4 separate regions of the Homo sapiens genome follow, and regions 2, 3 and 4 are each linked to region 1. The links are contacts of gene promoters, found by promoter capture Hi-C in blood cells and fetal thymus (Javierre and others, 2016). All regions are on one chromosome and are shown on one strand. The core of a region is centred on a gene start or on the middle of the fragment in contact, and the rest is flanking DNA. Distances in the headings are between cores, read along the strand shown. Region 1 holds the start of EPB41L2 (erythrocyte membrane protein band 4.1 like 2). Region 2 has its middle 6.8 kb from the start of ARG1. Region 3 has its middle 35 kb from the start of ARG1. Region 4 has its middle 54 kb from the start of ARG1.

Region 1 (2,528 bases), core at 9-2,508:
AAAGCGAAAATATAGCCACAGCTCCTCTAGATTCCACCTTCTCTCCCATCCACCCAGGGATCTTAAAATTAAGGGCAGCTGTGGTGTTGATGGGGCAATTCAATGAAAGACTACCCGGGTCCGTAGGGAGGGCTCCATACGCAGACCCCTCCCCAAAATAATAGACTCTAGGCAGTAGTTCTTCTCACCAAACCTCATTTTATTTATACATATATATAAAAAAAAAAACTTGACCTCAGGGGAGGTGAGCGATCTAGAGAAGCATAACTGATGTCCCACCACAGACCTCAGGCTGCTGGGGGCAGCGTCTGCGCCTGGGGATGGCGTCCCCAGACGCCGACTTCAACCCTGTCGCGCTCCTTTAGGTTCTCCTCGCCCTTCCCCGCTGCTCACCTAAAAATGCTCCCAACCCTCGGCCCCCAGGCGCAGGAGGAGAAAAAACAAGCCATCTGTGGTGAGATGGCCTGGGTGTGGGAATTGTAAGGATCGGAGCACGAAACACGCGTCCCTCTCCGCAGCTCCCAGACGGCGCAGGCGGCAGCTGGGGGCGCGGACGCGAGCCTACAGCGGGCCCGACCCGCACCGCGCGTGGGGCTGGCGCGCCGCCCTCGCCCGGCTTCCCGCAGTCCCCACGCGCGCGGCCGGCCCGCGCTTCCCCTCCTAAAACCTTCCTCCTGAAGGGCGACGCCGCGGCCGACCCCCTCCCCGCGGGGGGGATGGAGCCGGATTTTTCCCGCTGTTGCTCCACGGGGCCCGGACGCGTGACCTGAGCCCACGGCACCCCGGGGGGGACGGCGTCCTCCCCGTGCCCCCGCCTTTCCTGGCTCCGCCGGGACGCGGCCCCGGTCCCCCGGAAGAGGGAAGAGGGGGACCGCGGGGAGCAGCGAAGCCGGGATCCGGCCCGGAGCAACAGGACCCGGACCCCCGGGCAAGAATCGGGTCGGGCAGAGACCGGGAAGGAAAGGAGAGAGGGAGCCGCAGAAAATCCCAAAGCCGGGCCCCCTCTCCCCGCCCCCCATCCCGGTGGGACCGTCCCGCCACCGCTTCCTGCCCGGAATCAGCTTCCCAGCTGCAGCCAGAGGAAAAATCTGAGCCGCCCCTGCAACCCCACACTGACCAGTCGCCCGGCCCGTGCAGCCCCGCACGCCTCCTTACCCCGACGCCGTACCTCAGGAGCTCGCTCGCCGCGGGACCCGTCCCTCTTCAGTCCCAGCCGCCGGCAGCCGCGCCTGCCTCCTCCCTCCGCTAGGTTTCAAATTGAAATTCCCTGACTGGGGCCGTCAGAGGACTCTGAGGGCCGGCCCCGCCCCCTCGCGGCGGAAGCCCCTCCCGCGACCCCGCCGGACGAGCCCCCGGCGCGGAAACCCCCGCGGGCGGTCCCGCCCCCGACGCCCAGGCCCCGCCCCTGCGCGGGCGGGGGACCTTTCCCGCGGGATTCGGCAAGCGCGGCCGCGGAGACCCGGGGGTGGAGGACGTCTTTCGCCCTCAGGGCAGCCCGGATGACAGCTAATGCGCCTGGGCAAGGCGTTCTCAACTGCGATTCCCGGCCTTAAATGTCCTCTCAACTTTTAAAAGTTATTTATTCAAAGTGCATTTGCTGACTAAACCTTCACTGAGCGCCTTCCTAGAGGTAAACACTGGAGCAGAGCCTGGAGATGCAGAATAAGGAAAACTGGGTCTCCCTCAGTCTAGAGTGGAAAAAGTGCTTTCACAGGAAGGGCATTGAAAAGGAACCATTTATTCTTCCTGTGGGAGGGACAGGAGGGGTTGGGGAAACCCCGTGGAGGAAAGGCCTCCCCAGAGTAAGTAGGATTTCTCTGGGCAGAGGCCTGGGAATCTGGATTGCAGAGCATGACCACGGGTGAAGAAGAGTCTGGAAAAAACCTAGTTTGGGGCTAAATTGTGGAAAGCCACAAGCACACACACGCTACCCTTCTGGTTCTTTTCTTTTGTACAATGAGGTCAATATGTTTCAGATTCAATATATTTCATCTTTTGAAGGTTTGCACGTCAAGCTGGTGTCAAACAACGTGTCCAGCTCACTGCCTCCAGCATCTGCCTCACACGCACCTCTTATCCCTTTTACTCCTCCCACTTTTATTGAGGTCTTTAGTGATTCCACCACAGCCAAAGTCGTCTCCCTTTCTTTCCTAAACAGAACCTTTTCCAAAATTAACAATGTCAAATGAAACCTCAGTAACAATACCTTCCAGTTAACAAAATACATTCACATATTTTATCATCATTTGATCCTCACAATCACCCTATGAAAAAGGCAGGCACGTTTGAGCTCCATTACATCAAAAAGATTTGGGAAGATAAATTATTTGCCAAGGTCCTTCTAGTAAATAATACAAATAATAATAGTTAAGGTTGATTGTGTGCTTTATGTGCTAGGCATTGTTCTAAGTCCCTTACATGTATTAATTTAATCACAATCCCATATGCTAAGTATACAAGTTAAATTTTATAAGGTGTGCTAAAACAGAGCAGAAATCTGATTAGACAGCAATTCTGGTAAAGGAGAC
Region 2 (2,528 bases), core at 22-2,521, 500 kb after region 1:
TGAGATCGCTGGATCATGTGGTAGCTCTATTTTTACTTTTTTGAAGAACCTGTAAACTGTTCTCCACAGTGGTTGTACTAATTTACATTCCCACCAACAGTGTACGAGGGTTCCCTTTTCTCCACTTCCTCACCAGCATTTGTTATTGCTTGTCTTTTGGATGAAAGCCATTTTAACTGGGGTGAGGTAATATCTCATTGTAATTTTGATTTGCATTTCACTGATGATCAGTGATGTTGAGCACCTTTTCATAGGCTTGTTTGTCATTTGTATGTCTTCTTTTAAGAACTATCTATTCAAATCTTTTGCCCATTTTTTAATCGGGTGATTAGTTTTTTTCCTAGAGTTCTTTGAGCTCCTTAAATACTTTGGTTATTAATCCCTTGTCAGATGGGTAGTTTATAAATATTTTCTCCCATTCTGCAGGTTGTCTCTTCACTTTGTTGATGGTTTCCTTTGCTGTGCAGAAGCTGTTTAACTTGATCTGATCCTTTGTCTATTTTTGCTTTGGTGCCTGTGCTTGTGGGGTATATTACTCAGGAAATTTTTGCCCAGACCAACATCCTGGAGATTTTCCCCAATGTTTTCTTGTAGCAGTTTCATAGTTTTGAGGTCTTAGATTTAAGTCTCCTTAATGATTTTTAAGAGCGCCTTTTCATTAGGGCCATTGGTCCTTTGTTGCTCAAAGTGTTTCAAACATATACTTTTTCCTTTACTTTTTTATTTTTGCTTTACAGTATTTACAATTTTTTTCTCTTTTTTGGAGTTAGTGTCTTATATGTGGTGATGGTATCATGGATGTATGCATATGTCCAAGCTCATTAAAATGTATACATTAAGCCAGGTGCGGTGGCTCACGCCTGTAAATCCCAGCACTTTGGGAGGCCAATGCGGGTAGATCACAAGGTCACGAGTTCGAGACCAGCCTGACCAACATGGTGAAACCGCTTCTCTACTTAAAATACAAAATATTAGCCGGGCATGGTGGTATGAGCCTGTAATCCCAGCTACTCAGGAGGCTGAGGCAGGGGAATCACTTGAACCCAGGAGGTGGAGGTTGCAGTGAGCCAAGATCGCACCACTGCACTCCAGCCTGTTCAACAGAGCAAGACTCCATCTCAAAAAAAAAAAAAGCATACATTAGATATGTATATTTTTGTATATCAACTATAAATTGATAAATATTAATGAAGCTTACATTTCTCAATTTCATTGAGAAATTAAATCTATCAAGTTTATTAACTAGAATTCATTTTTTTTAAATAACATAAAATGATGGAAATAGACAATTACCATCTGGCAAATATCACAGCAGTAATTTACTTTAGTCAAGAATCATCAATGGATGCTAAGCTTAGTGGGTCAAAGTGTGATGACAAAGAGGATAATTATATAATATTAAAGTATTGCCCCCACAAGATACTTATTTATTACAAAGGAAAAATAGCAAATTTGCAGAGGAGAAACTTGAGAGGTACTACTTTAACCACGTGATTAAAGTAATGGGACAGTAATGGGACAGACCAACGTCAAATCCCTCCTAATGTGATACACTGAGAAGTACACCACATTACTTTTGTAGTATTCTTGAACAAATGCAAACCTTGAATTTAATTAAAGAAGACCTCGGATGAATTTAAGTTGAGAGACTCTTCAAAAGTCTGAAGTTGATGTAGGACAAAGAAAAACTGAGGAACTGTACCAGGGGAAAGGAGACTAAGATACATGGCAATTTTGGGGAAGCTGATCCTGAGTTAAGGGTACTGATCATATATTATTTTCCTGGATCCCAAATAGCAAACAGCATGGAAGCAAGCACTAAGTAAAATGATTATTTAGTAAATACTTATTGGCTGATTAATTATTAAAGAATCTAGATGTGTAGAGTCTTCTGACTTCATCAGCTCACCTCTTCCTTAGTAGGAATATTTGTTCCAAACCACCCACAGAATATAGGTGTGCAGTTAGGTATGCCAGAAGAATTCTGTCCTTCATCAGATGATTTATAGCACATAGGCTAAAAAAACTGAATAGCTTTGAAGGTGCTAGACTCTGCCAAGTGAAGATGTTCCACGATCTCAGCCATCACTCCAATTTATTTGTTCTTGATCCTGAAGAACTAAAGAGCAAGGCCTCCTTGCAGACATGTCTTCAGTCAAATCTTCAGAGAGTCTATACGGAGAATGGGTCTCCTATTTACTTCTCCATTTGGGAAATGTCACTCAAATATCATAAATTAAACTTCCCACTGAATTTTGTCTATTTTCAAAAATATACCTGTAGACTTTCAGCTTCTGAGAATGGGAAGCTCACATAAAAATAGCCAGGATTTCAGAGTCTCTGAGCCTACCCTGGCTCAGAAGGCTGCCCAACAACAACAACAACAACAACACAGCCAGGATTTTTGTAAAAAATTGATAAATAATACAAATTAACACATCCATCAGGCCTAGAAAATCCAAGAAGGATATATGAAATCCAAAAATGATATATAAAAATCTATACCAAGATACATCACACCAAGGCTA
Region 3 (2,528 bases), core at 17-2,516, 470 kb after region 1:
CAGTCACATTTTAATGACACTGTCTTGCTGAAGAGAATAACTCATAATGAAGAAAATACACCAAATTCTGGATGTCTCTGATTGTTTCTTTGTGGTATCATTTAGCTTGTTTCTGTACATTGGAATTTAGATATAAAGGCTCTATTAGATTTGGGCTAGACTACGTCACAGATGATGTGTTTTACTTCATATTGCATCTCATTAATAGGCCCACAATATCTGGTTGTCCACCAGTGGGATGCTGAGAGAGACCACTGAGAGTGGGGATAACATCTTGAACCCTCCATTGCAAGAAGAAACTAATCTCTGTGTGGTTATCATGGCCTCATATAGGTGTCTAGTTCCCTACCCATCATTCATCTAATAGTGTCAACACCAGTTCATGGCCTGACTGGTTGATTTAATTGTTGCCAAATGATTATTTCCTAATTCTGTCACTTCACATGTGTTGATTGGGGACATTCCTTATTAACTGGAGCTTTCTGTTTACCCTGTGATACAGTCCCTGCTTAAAAGAAGGATGAATTGTTTATTCTTTCCCATTACTCACAAATTTTGAGAATAAAGAATTAGTTTAATAATTATTTTAATTAGTGATATGTGATATCCTTTTTTTCTGACTTCCCCTTTTGTTAATGTCATTATAAACTCTGATTTTTAATAAATTTAATGAATTTCAAAAAACTACAATCAGGGCAGGGGTGGTTGTTCAAATGGTCACAAATGTAATCAGAAGACACTTTAAGCTGGCTTCTGAGTCCCTTTGATAGGACTCCATTAATCTTTATGAGTTTCTTTGCTTGCTTTTGGGCACAAGATCTGAATACCTTCAGTGGGGAATCATATAAGTACTTTGGTTTGAATGATGGTGCACTCACCAAAATTCATATGTTGAAACTGAACTGCCAATGTAGTAGTATTAAGAGATGGGGTCTTTAAGAGGTTATTAAGTCATAAGGGCAGAGCCTTCAAGGAGGGGGTTATAAATAGAACTTATAAATGGACTCGAGGGAGTGGGTTTGCTCTCTTCCACTCTTCTGCCATGTGAGGATGAAGCATTCCTCCTCTGTGGCCCTTCCATCCCTTCTACCACATAAAGACAGAGTGTTCCTCCTCTCTGGAGGTCACGGCAACAAAGCACCACCTTGGAAGAAGAGAGCAGCCCTCACCAGACAACTGAACCTGCTGGCACATTAATCTTGAATTTCCCAGCTTCCAGAACTGTGAGAAAATAGAACTGTGTACTTTATAAATCACCTGGTCTCAGATATTTTGTTATAGCAGCACAAACAGACTAAGACAGTCAAATTCACCTTTTTAAGAGAGCCAGTTGCTAATGCAGTGACATTGCATCTTGGATATACCATGGACAGAGTTGGAAGCTGGAAGATATACATTTTTAAGAACATGAGTTCATACTGATATTTTCAGCTTTAGCAATACAGTGTTTTTACTTGATTTCTTTAATTTTATAAATGTATCTCTTTCCTTTTGTATTTTTTCCTATAATGTAAAGAAAATAATTTTAAGAAACAATACCAATATTACCATTGAAAAAAGTTTAAAAATTTTTGTCAGTATTTTGTCCTTAGAATGCATCCCAAGCATTGCTGGTAAGATGGCCGAATAGGAACAGCTCTCGTCTGCAGTTCCCAGTGAGATTGATGTGGAAGGCGGGTGATTTCTGCATTTCCAACTGAGGTACCCAGTTCATCTCACTGGGACTGGTTGGACAGTGGGTGTAGCCCATGGAGGGTGAGCCAAAGCAGAGTGGGGCATCGCCTTACCCAGGGAGCACAAGGGGTCAAGGAATTCTCTCCCCTAGCCAAGGGAAGCCATGAGGGACTGTGCCGTGCCATGAGGAATGGTGCACTCAGGCCGAGATACTGCACTTCTCCCACAGTCTTCACAACTCGCAGACCAGGAGATTCCCTCCGGTGCCTCCACCACCAGGGTCCTGGGTTTCAAGCACAAAACTGGGCAGCTGTTTGGGCAGACACCAAGCTAGCTGCAGGAGGTTTTTTTTTCCACACCCAAGTGGTGCCTGGAACACCAGCAACACAGGACCATTCACTCCCCTGGAAAGGGGGCTGAAGCCAGGGAGCGAAGAGGTCTGGCTTGGTGGGCCCCACCCCCATAGAGCCCAGCAAGCTAAGATCCACTGGCTTGAAATTCTCACTGCCAGCATAGCAGTCTGAGGTCGATCTGGGGTGCTCGAGGTTGGTTGAGGGAGGGGCGTCCACCATTACTGAGCCTTGAATAGGGGATTTTACCCTCACAGTGTAAACAAAGCTACCAGGAAGTTCAAACTGAGTGGAGCCCACTGCAGCTCAGCAAGGCCACTGTGGCCAGACTGCCTCTCTAGATTCCTCCTCTCTGGGCAGGGTATCTCTGAAAAAAAAGGCAGCAGTCCCAGTCAGGGGCTTATAGGTAAAACCCCCATCTCACTGGGACAGAGCACTTGGGGGAAGGGGCAGCTGTGGGCACAGCCTCAGCAGACTTAAACATCCCTGCCTGACGGTTCTGAA
Region 4 (2,528 bases), core at 19-2,518, 460 kb after region 1:
GATCTGTCTAGTGCTGTCAGTGGGGTATTGAAGTTCTCCATTATTACTGTATTGGTGTCTATTTTCTTTCTCAGGTCTAGTAGTATTTAAGAATCTGGGTGCTCTGGTGTTGCTATTGGGTGCATATATATTTAGAATTATTATCTCTTCTTGTTGAATTGATCCCTTTATCATTATATAATATGCTTCTTTGTGTTTTTTTTAACTGCTTTTGATTTAAAGTCTGTTTTGTCTGATTTAAGTATAGCTATCCCTGCTCACTTTTAGTTTCCATTTGTGTGAAGTATTTTTTCCACTCCTTTACTTTGAGTTTGTAAATATCTTTACCAGTTAGGTAGGTTTCTTGTATGCAGCATATCGTTGGATTTTGTTTTTAATCTGTTCCATCAGCCTATTTTTTTTTAATTAGAGCATTTATTTCATTTACGTTTAAGTCCATTTACATTTGAAATGTGAGGTTTTGTTCTTGTCATAATGTTAATTATTACCTAGTTGCTTTAAATTCTCAATTGTGTAATTGCTTTATGAGATACATGAGTTGTATACTTTCGTGTTTTTAGGAAGGTATCACCCTTTAATTTCCATGTTTAGAACTCCTTTGAGCATTTTTTGTAAGACCAGTTTAGAGGTGATGAATTCCCTGTGTTTGTCTGGGAAAGACTTTATTTCTCCTTCACTTATGAAGCTTAGTTTAGCAGGACATAAAATTCTTGGCTGGCATAACTTTTATTTAAGAAGAATGAAATTAAGACCCCAGCCTCTAATGGTTTGTAAGGTTTCAGCTGAGAAGTCTGCTGTTAATCTGCTGAGATTTCCTTTATAGGTAATTGTACTCTTCTCTCTTGCCACTTTCAGGATTTTTTCCTTCATGTTGACTTTGGATAGTCTGATACTTTCAGGATTTTTTCCTTCAGGTTGACTTTGGACAGTCCAATGACAATATGTCTTAGTGAGATTCTTCTTGCAATGTATTTTCCAGGAGTTCTCTAAACTTCACGTATCTAAATGTCTAGATCTCCAGCAAGACCAGGGAAGTTTTCCTGAATTATTTCCTCAACTATACTTTTTATACTTTTTACTTTTTCTTCTTCTCCTTCTGGAATACCTATAACTTGCAGGCTTGGTCCCTTTACATAGTTCCATATATCTCAAAGGCTTTGTTCACTATTATTAAGTTATTTTTTCTTTATTTTTGTCTGGCTGGGTTAATTCAAAAGACCTGTCTTCCAGGTCTAAAAGTCTTTTTTCTGCTGGGTAAAGTCTATTGTTGAAACTTTCAACTGCATTTTGTAATTTCTCCAACAAGTACTTTATTTCCAGAAGTTCTGTTTGGTTTTTGTTAATAATATCTATCTCTTATTTCATGTCCTAAATTTTTTTTTCCAATTTCTTTGTATTGGTTTTTACCTTTCTCTTGGATATCATTGAGCTTTTTTAAATTCAATATTTTGAATTCTTCATTTGGTCTTTCAACTATTTCATTTTGATTAGGATCTGTTGCAGGAGAATTATTGTGGTCCTTTGAGAGTATTGTAACACTCTGTTTTTTTTTTTCATACTTTCAGAATTGTTTCTCTGGTTCCTTCTCATCTGAATAAGCATTTTCTCCTTCTTATTTCTGAATTACTTTTGCTTGAATGGGACTTCTCCCCCCTCAAGCTGTCATGTGTGTTTTGTAGCATCCTTTGGGTTTGGTTCTGGGTGCTTTCAGCGGCAAAGGCTCTGTTTAGGTTCCATGGTTGTAGGTAATCTTTGTGTAGTGGATTTCTCAGATGCTGGTTGTAGTAGCAATGTACTGGGTATGTAAGCAGGCTCACTACCTCTTGAGAGGCTGGTATGGTGGAGGTCTCAGGAAGCTTATCTCATTCCCTAGTGCTGTGTGCTTGTGTCAACAGATTTTCTGTTGAGTTGTGCAGTTCATCCTTTAGGCCAGTGGGTGGCACTTATGGATAAGAGCTAATTGTGGCTGACACCGATATAGGCTTGATCTTTGTTTACCCTGAGATGTCTTCTGCTGCCTCATGCAATGGGCAATTTTGTGGAATGTACAGTGGTCTAAGCTCCCTGCTCACTCCCCAGATGGAGGTATCAAGCTGGGCAGGGCCAGACCAGCCAAGCCTGCCTATACATACCCCAATGGCAGGCATAAGTGCTAGGTTAAAAGGGAGTCTGGGAGGCAGCTGCCAACTGCCCATAGATGTGCCTGGGCATGGAGTGAAGAAATCTCCACTTCCCCAAGTTCTCTGCCCAGGAAAGGAGGGACAACCTAGACTCTCAATCTAGAAAAGTGGATGCTCCAAATGCCTGGAGATATGTCCAGGGTGAGCCAAATACCTGGAAATATGTCCCCCAGAGAGGAAAGGAGTACCTGCTGCAGAGTGGAGTAACTGCTGCTACAACAGGATCTTGGCGAGGGAGTGGGGAGTGGGTGTGGGGGTGGGAAGAGGCAGCTCAGGCTCCTATTTCAGGCAAGCAGGTACACTGAGTGACTGGAAATATACCCAGTTGTGAAGTGGAGGGTTTGCTGC

Evidence for each region. The method cuts DNA at HindIII sites, captures the fragments that hold promoters and counts their contacts. A CHiCAGO score of 5 or more calls a contact.
Region 2: a contact is called between a fragment that was not itself captured here and the fragment with the promoter of EPB41L2 in region 1, in 2 of 17 cell types (total CD8 T cells and M1 macrophages). The highest score is 5.8, in total CD8 T cells.
Region 3: a contact is called between a fragment that was not itself captured here and the fragment with the promoter of EPB41L2 in region 1, in 1 of 17 cell types (fetal thymus). The highest score is 7.7, in fetal thymus.
Region 4: a fragment that was not itself captured here is called in contact with the fragment with the promoter of EPB41L2 in region 1 in 4 of 17 cell types (non-activated CD4 T cells, fetal thymus, total CD8 T cells and 1 more); the score reaches 5.8 in non-activated CD4 T cells.

Annotation. Positions count from the first base shown.
Region 1 is chr6:131,061,987-131,064,514 of GRCh38, forward strand. It overlaps EPB41L2 (erythrocyte membrane protein band 4.1 like 2), which reads right to left and starts at 1,259. Exons shown (of 20, transcript NM_001431.4): 1 at 1,169-1,259. It overlaps LOC105378004 (a long non-coding RNA gene), which reads left to right and starts at 1,417. Exons shown (of 3, transcript XR_942993.3): 1 at 1,417-1,630. RefSeq lists silencers at 716-815, 1,156-1,495. The HindIII fragment of the contact is 3,039 bases long and covers 1-2,528 here.
Region 2 is chr6:131,565,138-131,567,665 of GRCh38, forward strand. No RefSeq gene overlaps it. Among named protein-coding and RNA genes, the nearest start is that of ARG1, 6.8 kb to the right of the region's middle. The HindIII fragment of the contact is 160 bases long and covers 1,192-1,351 here.
Region 3 is chr6:131,536,648-131,539,175 of GRCh38, forward strand. No RefSeq gene overlaps it. Among named protein-coding and RNA genes, the nearest start is that of ARG1, 35 kb to the right of the region's middle. The HindIII fragment of the contact is 9,527 bases long and covers 1-2,528 here.
Region 4 is chr6:131,517,832-131,520,359 of GRCh38, forward strand. No RefSeq gene overlaps it. Among named protein-coding and RNA genes, the nearest start is that of ARG1, 54 kb to the right of the region's middle. The HindIII fragment of the contact is 1,171 bases long and covers 684-1,854 here.